2 separate regions of the Homo sapiens genome follow, and region 2 is linked to region 1. Evidence: promoter capture Hi-C in 16 types of primary human blood cells and fetal thymus (Javierre and others, 2016). All regions are on one chromosome and are shown on one strand. Each heading gives the region's core, a stretch centred on a gene start or on the middle of the fragment in contact. The rest is flanking DNA. Distances are from core to core; before and after follow the strand shown.

Region 1 (5,226 bases), core at 2,639-5,138:
GGAGCGTCTCTGCCCGGCCGCCATCCCATCTGGGAAGTGAGGAGCGCCTCTTCCCGGCCGCCATCACATCTAGGAAGTGAGGAGCGTCTCTGCCCGGCCGCCCATCGTCTGGGATGTGGGGAGCGCCTCTGCCCCGCCGCCCTGTCTGGGATGTGAGGAGCGCCTCTGCCCGGCCGCCATCCCGTCTGGGAGGTGAGGAGCGTCTCTGCCCGGCCGCCCCGTCTGAGAAGTGAGGAGACCCTCCGCCGGGCAGCCGCCCCGTATGAGAAGTGAGGAGCCTCTCTGCCCGGCAGCCGCCCCGTCTGAGAAGTGAGGAGCCTCTCCACCCGGCAGCCACCCCGTCTGGGAAGTAAGGAGCGTCTCCGCCCGGCAGCCACCCCGTCCTGGAGGGAGGTGGGGGGGTCAGCCCCCCGCCAGGCCAGCCGCCCCGTCCGGGAGGGAGGTGGGGGCGTCAGCCCCCCGCCCGGCCAGCCGTCCCGTCCGGGAGGGAGGTGGGGGGGTCAGCCCCCCGCCCGGCCAGACGCCCCGTCCGGGAGGTGAGGGGCGCCTCTGCCCGGCCGCCCCTACTGGGAAGTGAGGAGCCCCTCTGCCCAGCCAGCCGCCCCGTCCGGGAGGGAGGTGGGGGGATCAGCCCCCCCGCCCGGCCAGCCGCCCAGTCCGGGAGGGAGGTGGGGGGGTCAGCCCCCCGCCCGGCCAGCTGCCCCGTCCGGGAGGTGAGGGTCGCCTCTGCCCGGCCGCCCCTACTGGGAAGTGAGGAGCCCCTCTGCCCAGCCAGCCGCCCCGTCCGGGAGGGAGGTGGGGGGAATCAGCCCCCCGCCCGGCCAGCCGCCCCGTCCGGGAGGGAGGTGGGGGGGTCAGCCCCCCGCCCGGCCAGCCGTCCCGTCCGGGAGGGAGGTGGGGGGGTCAGCCCCCCGCCCGGCCAGCCGCCCCGTCCGGGAGGTGAGGGGCGCCTCTGCCCGGCCGCCCCTACTGGGAAGTGAGGAGCCCCTCTGCCCGGCCAGCCGCCCCATCCGGGAGGGAGGTGGGGGGGTCAGCCCCCAACCCGGCCAGCCGCCCCGTCCGGGAGGGAGGTGGGGGGGTCAGCCCCCCGCCCGGCCAGCCGCCCCGTCCGGGAGGTGAGGGGCGCCTCTGCCCGGCCGCCCCTACTGGGAAGTGAGGAGCCCCTCTGCCCGGCCGGCCGCCCCGTCCGGGGGGGAGGTGGGGGGGTCAGCCCCCCGCCCGGCCAGCCGCCCCATCCGGGCCGTGAGGGGTGCCTCTGCCCGGCCACGGCCCCGTCTGGGAGGTGTGCCCAGCAGCTCATTGAGAACGGGCCAGGATGACAATGGCGGCTTTGTGGAATAGAGAGGGGAGAAAGGTGGGGAAAAGATTGAGAAATCGGATGGTTGCCGTGTCTGTGTAGAAGGAGGTAGACATGGGAGACTTTTCATTTTGTTCTGTACTAAGAGAAGTTCTTCTGCCTTGGGATCCTGTTGATCTGTGACCTTACCCCCAACCCTGTGCTCTCTGAAACATGTGCTGTGTCAAACTCAGGGTTAAATGGATTAAGGGCGGTGCAAGATGTGCTTTGTTAAACAGATGCTTGAAGGCAGCATGCTCCTTAAGCGTCATCACCACTCCCTAATCTCAAGTACCCAGGGACACAAACACTGCAGAAGGCCACAGGGACCTCTGCCTAGGAAAGCCAGGTATTGTCCAAGGTTTCTCCCCATGTGATAGTCTGAAATATGGCCTCTTGGGAAGGGAAAGACCTGACCGTCCCCCAGCCCGACACCTGTAAAGGGTCTGTGCTGAGGAGGATTAGTATAAGAGGAAGGCATGCCTCTTGCAGTTGAGACAAGAGCAAGGCAACTGTCTCCTGTCCGTCCCTGGGCAATGGAATGTCTCGGTATAAAACCCGATTGTACGTTCCATCTACTGAGATGGGGAAAAACCGCCTATCTCACCTATCACCGCCTATCACCACTCCCCAATCTCAAGTACCCAGGGACACAAACGCTGCGGAAGGCCGCAGGGTCCTCTGCCTAGGAAAACCAGAGACCTTTGTTCACTTGTTTATCTGCTGACCTTCCCTCCACTATTGTCCTATGACCCTGCCAAATCCCCCTCTGTGAGAAACACCCAAGAATGATCAATAAAATAAATAAATAAATAAATAAATAATTGTTTTTCATGTAAAATACAATTTTTTTCCCTTAACAAAAATTCAAATTAAAAAAAAAGTATGATTACAATTCCTTTGTGGTAATTACTTGGACTACAGAGTTTTGTACTTTTGCTTCAACTGAATCAATGCGACTATTATTGTCCTTCCAGATCTTTTGATGTCACCAATGACACATCCATCATTTTCATCATCATAACAATAAGTGACTGAACCTCACCAAAAAGAAAACAAAAAATAGCTTTTACTCACTAGATTCCATTTATGAATTTAAACTCAAATCAAGTGTCCAATGCCAGATGAATGGATAAGGAAAATGGGGCATATATACAATGAAATACTACTCAGCCTTAAAATAAATCTTGTCATTTCTTATAGATGAAACTGGAGACCATTATGCAAAGTAAAACAAACTAGGCACAGAAAAACAAAAACTGCGTGATCTCACTTACATGAGGAATCTAAAAATGTTGAACTGAGTAAAATTGTCATTGCCAGAGAACAAGGATGGAGGTAACAATGGGACTCGGGAGGTATAAATACTGGAGATCTACTTTAAAGCATGGTGATAATAGTTAATGTACTTGATACTGGAAAATTGCTGATAGGCCTTAAATGTTCTCACCACAGAAAGTGAGGTGGATGTTAAGCTCGATGTAATCATTACACAATGAATATATGTCAGATCAGATTGTACATGTAAGTTGTCATACCTTAATGAGGGTGGAGGAAAGTAAAAAATTATCTTAAAATTCTTTAAGAGGTCGCACTTTGAGAGGCCAAGGCGGGCGGATCGCGAGGTCAGGAGATCGAGACCATCCTGGCCAACATAGTGAAACCCCATCTCTACTAATACAAAAATTAGCTGGGTGTAGTGGCGCAAAACTGTAATCCCAGCTACTCGGCAGGCTGAGGCAGGAGAATCGCTTGAACCCAGGAGGCGGAAGTTGCAGTGAGCCGAGATCGCGCCGCTGCACTCCAACTCGCAGACAAAGACGAAACAAAAAAAACCCACAAATACTTGTGGATTTGGAGGCTTTTCAAAAACGATTTCCGATTACCACTGTCAAGCTCACTACGGGGGTTACATAAACGTTTCTGGTACTGCACATTCTGTGTACGAGTATTTTCTCCATTACGTAAACAAGCTTACGAATTTTGAGCAAGTTTAGACATTACATCTCGTAATTAGTCCTGCCTACAGTGACCCCGGGTGAATGGCCACACGTGTGCCGCTGTGTTCAAAAAACTGTTCCCCCCAGAACTGACTCAGAACCAAGCAAAATTCCGTACCTACCAAAACCACTCCTCAGTGTTACCACTCTTCAGCTGAGAAAGTAGGGTGGCCCTGAAAAGGGCCTTTTATTGATAGAAAGGGACGCTCAACCACCGAAACCGTAGAGGGTGCGGCCCTGGCGCTTGAGCGCGTAGACCACATCCATGGCGGTGACCGTCTTGCGCTTGGCGTGCTCTGTATAGGTCACGGCGTCCCGGATCACGTTCTCCAGGAACACCTTCAGCACCCCGCGAGTCTCCTCGTAGATGAGGCCGGAGATGCGCTTCACGCCGCCGCGGCGAGCAAGGCGCCGGATGGCCGGCTTGGTGATGCCCTGGATATTGTCGCGCAGTACTTTACGGTGGCGCTTAGCGCCGCCTTTGCCAAGACCCTTCCCGCCTTTGCCGCGGCCAGACATGACGAGCAAGAGGAGTCTCACCCAACGCTTTGTGAGGCCTCTGGCCTGAGGCAGCGCCTTTATACGACAGTTGGCGGACCGAACTGAGAACCTGAAAGAAGTCGGCGGGAAGTCCCGCCCCGGTGGGGGAGGGGAAATCTAAAGGGCCAAACCGAAATAGGGGGGAAAAAAAAGCGAGCTTCTTGTTTCCGTGTTCTGAATTTTGTAATGTGCAAAGTATTCTGTTACCACGTTATGAGGCTTTAAAAAATTGCTTTTGAACGCAGAAGATATACATCAATACTGTGGGGAATACAAAAAAGTGACCGGGCTCGGTGGCTGACGTCTGTGATCCCACCATTTTAGGAGGCCGAGATGGGAGTGTACCTGGGCGTCAGGAGTTTGAGATCTGCGTGAGCAAAATAGCGAGACCCCATCTCTACCAAGACAACAATTAAATTAAATTAAAACATTAGTCCAGCATGATAGCGCTTACACTTTAGGAGACACTCTTTTTTTTAAATATATTAAAAAAAAAAACCAGTACAGTAACAACAGCCTGTTATCCCATCTTCCCATCACACAAAGAGCTCTACTGCTAGCTAATAAGATAATTTGGTGAGCAGATAAATGCACATTTTTTCCCACAAAATGTATGCAGTATATGGCATTTTACAACTTCGCGTTGTTTTAATCAATTTCCCTTATTTAAAAAGTTTACAAAAGTGATTTTAATGTCTTTATTATTTCTTCTCCTGAATTCTGCCTGCTACAGTGTTAACCAATTCCCTAGGAATTTATTAATCAACCAGATTTTTTAAATAATTCATCTTTTCCCTGCGGATTAAGTACCACCTTTAACATTATACATACTCGGAACTATTACCAAAATTCTATTCTGTCTATAATTTAATCAAGGTGGTTTGCCAAAGGGAATCTATGTTCACGGTTAAAAGCTTAGAAAATTCACATTAGGAAAAATTTTAAAAGCAGTAATTTATATCTGCTTAATATTCCATCATAAGAATTTTCTAGGTCCACTTTCACAGTATTTCTAGTACTTAGCAATAATGTGCTAATTTTCTTTTCCTAATTTAAAGGAGAACTGTACAAAATTTACTTCCTGAGGAAAATGTAGAATTGAAGCGCTTTGTCACAAAGGATGCAGATTTTAAGGTATTTTGATAACTGTTACTACATTTTCCTCAAAAGTTTTATTCCATTCACTTTTGCCAGCAGTAACTGCTGTGTATGTTTACCAGCATTGAGTATTATGGTTTTTAAATTCTATGTTACATTCAGAATTTACTTTTAGTTTTGTTGATTGAGTCTTGAGTTAATGAACTAGTTACCCAGCAAGATTTATTGATTTGTTTATAAGTAATAAATTGT
Region 2 (4,898 bases), core at 1,282-3,781, 710 kb after region 1:
AGAAAACTCAGTATTGTTAAGATAACAATTATTCTCAAACGAATACACAAATTCAACACTAACCCAGTCAAAACCCAGGAGGTTTCTTTGCAGAAATTGGCAATCTGATTCCAAAATTAATATGGAAATGAAAAGGATCTACAGTTGCCAAAACAACTCCGAAAAAGAACAAACCTGGATGGCTATCAACTACCTCATTTCACAGAATTATTATAAAGCTTCAGAAAGCCAGACAGCATGGTATGGTTGTAAGATAGGCAAGTAGGTCAATGGAACACAATAGAGAATCCAGAAACAAACCAACATGTATATAAACAACTGATGTTTGAAAGAGGCCCAAAGGCATCCTGGTGGAAAGGATAGTCTTTTCAAAAAGTAGTGTTAGAAAAATTGAATATCCACATGCAAAATATATATATATATAATATGTTATATATATATATGAACTTGTGTCTATACCTTGCAAAAATTAAAACAGTTCATACATTTAAACATAAAACCTAAAACTACAAGACCTCTACAAGAAAATGTAAGAAATTTTTATGACACTGGATTAGGCAAAGATTTCTTAGATATGACAGCAGAATTCATAAAAGAACAAACATGCATTGGATTTCTTCAAAATTAAAAATAGCTCTTTGAAAGTCAGTGTTAAGAAAATGAAAAATCAGGCCACAAACTCGGGGAAATACTTATAAATGCACTTACCTGATAAAGGACTGGTATCCAGAATGAACAATACTTAATATAGTACTCTCAACACTAAGAGGATAAACAACCCAATTAAATAAGTGGGCAAAAGATATGAACAGACACTTCAAAGAAAACATATTGTTAGCAAATAAGCACAGGAAAATACTTTGAATATCAGTCATTTGGGAAATGCAAACTAAAATCACAATCAAATACCACTACACATCTATTAGAATGCCTAAAATTTAAAAGACTGAGGGTGAAGTATTGGAAAGGACATAGCGGAATTGGAACTCTTATAAATTTGTCCTATGCATGTAAATACTATGGAAAACATTTTGACAGGTTCTTAAAAAGTTAATCATATAACTAATGTTGTTAATCATACTACCATATGATTCAGCCATGGCACTTCTAGGTATCTACTCAAGAGAAAAGGAAATATGTGTCCATATAAAGATTTGTACAAAAATACTCATAGCAGCTTTATTTGTATTAGTTAAATCTGGAAATAATCCAAATGTTCATCAATAGATGAATGGCTAAAATATTGTGGTATATCCCTGCAAAGAAATACTATTAAGCAACAAAAGAAACAAACTGTTGATTCAAAATATGTTACTCTTCTTTTTCTTTTTGTTTGAGATGGAGTCTCACTTTGTCACCCAGGCTGGGGCACAGTGGTGCAATCATAGCTCGCTGTAGCCTTGAACTTCTGGGTTCAAACCATCCTCCTGCCTCAGCCTCCTGAGTAGCTGGGACTATAAGTGTGTGCCACCACACCCAGCTAATTTTTAGAAATTTTTTTGTGGAGACGAGGGGTTGTGGGGGGGTGGTGCAGTTTCTCACTATTGCCCAGGCTGGTCTTGAACTAGTGGTCTCAAGTGATCCTTCCACCTAGGCCTCCCAAAGCACTGGGATTACAGTGTTAGCCACTGTGCCCAGCCTAAAATATGTTAGTTTTTTGTTGCTGCAAAATACATTAGCACAAACTTCAGGGTCTCAAAACAACATACGTTTATTATCTCAGGATAATAAATGATCAGGAGTCTGGGCATGACTTAGTTAGGTCTTTTGCTTAGGGTCTCACAAGACTAATTGAAGTGTCCCACCAGGATGCATTCTCATCTAGACACTTGACTGGGGAAGAATCCATGTCCAAGCTCACTCAGGTTGTTGGCGGAATTCATTTCCTTGCAGCTTTAGGTATGAGGACACCCGCTTCTTGCTGGTTGCTGGCTGGAAGACGCCTTTAATTCTGAGAGGCTGCCCGCACTTCCTAGAGGAGCTTGAAGCTCCTGGCCATGTGGACTTTCCCCACACGACCACTTACATCATGAAACCAGCAAGGACTGCTGAGTAAATAATTATGCTGAGTAAAAGAAACTGATCAAAATACAGTACATACTGGATTCTATTTTTACAAAACTAGAAAATACAAACTAATCTACAGTGACAAAGGTTAGATCAGTGGTTCCTTTGAGTTGGGGGACAAAGTGAGATAGGAGAAAGGTATTACAAAGGGGGACAAGTACATTTTAGAGGTGATAAGTTCACTTTTTTTTTTTTTTTTTTGAGACAGAGTGTTGCTCTGTTGCCCAGGCTCGAGTGCAATGGCGTGATCTTGGCTCCCTGCCATCTCTGCCTCCCGGGTTCAAGTGATTCTCCTGCTTCAGCCTCCTGAGTAGTTGGGATTACAGGCATATGCCACCATGCCCGGCTAATTTTTGTATTTTTAGTAGAGATGGGGTTTCACCATGTTAGTCAGGCTGGTCTCGAACTCCTGACCTCAGGTGATTCGCCCGCCTCGGCCTCCTGAAGTGCTGGGATTACAGGCGTGAACCACTGTGCCCAGCAAGTTCAGTGTCTTGATTAGGGTAACGGGTTCATATGAATACTTATGTCACACTCATTAACATGTATACTTTATGTGCAGTTTATCATATGCCAATTATACTTTAGCAAAACTATTTTTAAAAGCAAAAATGTAAAAAAAAAAAAAAGTAATTCTAAAAAAAAATGATAAAATTACACCCACAGCCCATTCTGTTGTTCTTCCTACTTCTGCCTCCCAATAGTGGCAGTCAGAGGGGAAGAAGGAGGACCCCAGGTCACAAGCAGCAGAGATGAATATATCTCAGTGGTTTGTGATGGTCTTGTCTTGTCTGAATGTACTCACATCTGAAACTCCATAGATCACAAAAGAATATGAAGTCATTGGCCATAACTGGATGCAGACTCATATTCACTGTGAAAATACAACAACATGGGATACGGAATAATGAAAAGAATTAAAAAATTTAATAATGACACTAACAAGAGTAAAACAACTTTAAATAATTGATCATTGGTCTCACTGTACTAAGTTCTTTATAAATAGTCATATACTTAATCTTGAAAAGAATTTTCCAAAGTGAGGTAGGAGATCAGCAGGACTTCTTTTCCAAGCACCGGTAATGACCATGCTGATCAAAAACAGGATGCAGTAAAAAAAAAACAACAAAAAAACCTCAGCAGAGTGGTGGCTCACACCTATAATCCCAGTGCTTTGAGAGGCTGAGGTGGGAGGATCCCCTGAGCCTAGAAGTTCGATATCAGCTGGGCAACATAGTGAGAACTCCATCCCTAAAAATGTAAGTTAAAAAAAAATTAGCGAGACATGGTGGCCTACATGTGTAGTCTCAGCTGCTTGTGGGGCTGAGGTGGGAGGATTGCTTGAGCCTGGGAGATCAAGGCAGCAGTGAGCTACGATTGTGCCACTGCACTCCAGCTGGGGCGACAGAGCAAGACCCTGTCTCAAAAACAAAAAACCCTGGCTGGGTGCAGTGGCTCACACCTGTAATCACAACACTTCAGGACGCTGATGTGGGCAGATCACCTAAGGTCAGGAGTTCGAGACCAGCCTGGCCAATATGGTGAAACCCCATCTCTACTAAAAATACAAAAATTAGCTGGGCATGGTGGCATGCACCTGTAATACCAGCTACTAGGGAGGCTGAGGCATGAGAATTGCTTGAACCCGGGAGGTGGAGGTTGCAGTGAGTCAAGATCGAGCCACTGCACTCCAGCCTGGGCAATAGAGCCAGACTCAGTCTCAAACAAAACAAAACAAAACAGCTGGCTGAAACCAGCAGATGGTGACAAAGCAACCTCTAGTTGCCCTCACAGCTCATTAGAATAAAGACACTCCCATCGGCGCCATGACAGTTTACAAATGCCATGGACATGACTCAGAAGTTACCCTATAGGGTTCTGGGAGCTCCCCCCACCCCTTTTCTAGAAAATTCTGAATAACACACTACTTAATTAGCATATAATTAATAGTGGGTATAAATATAGCTAGCCTGTGTGCTTTACTGTGGCTCTTTCTTCAGTTCTGGCTCCTGCTCTGACTCCTGCTCTGGACTGCTCCTGTTGCTGAACACTGCTCCTGCCCTTCCTGTCTGTTCTACTGGTGGAGCATCCACTTTGCTGTACACTGCTATTCTGGGCTGTTCTGCCTGTGGGTTAGTTGTGCTTTCTGCAGCATCCACCTTGCTGTACACAGTTGCTGTAGGCTTCTCTGCCTATGGGTTAGCCTTGCTTTGTGGAGCACCCGCTTTGCTGTACTATGCTGCTACTCTGGGATGCTCTATGGGTGAGCCTTGCTCTGTGGAGCACCTATTATGCTGCATGCTGCTACTCTGGGCTGCTCTGCCTGTGCGTTAGCTTGTGCTGTGTGGAGCGCCCACTTTGCTGCATGCTGCTACTTGGCTGCTCTGCCTGTGGGTTAGCTTGTGCTCTGTGGAGCACCCACTTTTCTGTATACTACTACTACAGGCTGTGCTGCCTGTGGGTTAGCACACAGGTCGCCCTTTGTTTATGGAGCAGTTTGCTGTACACTATTGGTCTAGGAAGTGTTTTTAAATTAACTCTGAAGCCAAAAGCCCTCCAGGGTTAAGTCCCAATTTTGGGGTTCACCTGTGTCAGCCTGGTGACCCTGAAGGAAGGAACCATCAAAATGAAGAGACCATGAAGGGAGCATCAAGATGAGCGGGTTGACCATCAAGATAAAGTTTGGAGTTGTGATACTGTAATGCTATATACTAGCCAAAGGCTCTTTTCAGAGCCATGTTTTCTTGGTGACTAACTGGTTGTACACTGAAGCTTTGGAAACCTTTGCCTGGACCCAAATTAATGGCCAATTGGCACCATGTGGTTTCTGT

Evidence for each region. Contacts are between HindIII fragments. The CHiCAGO score rates a contact against its expected background, and 5 or more counts as called.
Region 2: a fragment that was not itself captured here is called in contact with the fragment with the promoter of H4C11 in region 1 in 1 of 17 cell types (naive CD8 T cells); the score reaches 5.1 in naive CD8 T cells.

Annotation. Positions count from the first base shown.
Region 1 is chr6:27,822,754-27,827,979 of GRCh38, reverse strand. It overlaps H4C11 (H4 clustered histone 11), which reads right to left and starts at 3,888. Exons shown (of 1, transcript NM_021968.4): 1 at 3,500-3,888. The coding sequence starts at 3,855. The coding sequence ends at 3,544. RefSeq lists enhancers at 1,166-1,809, 1,810-2,451, 3,094-3,735, 4,029-4,168. The HindIII fragment of the contact is 1,481 bases long and covers 3,312-4,792 here.
Region 2 is chr6:27,114,296-27,119,193 of GRCh38, reverse strand. No RefSeq gene overlaps it. Among named protein-coding and RNA genes, the nearest start is that of H2BC11, 16 kb to the left of the region's middle. RefSeq lists an enhancer at 3,884-3,983. The HindIII fragment of the contact is 4,621 bases long and covers 221-4,841 here.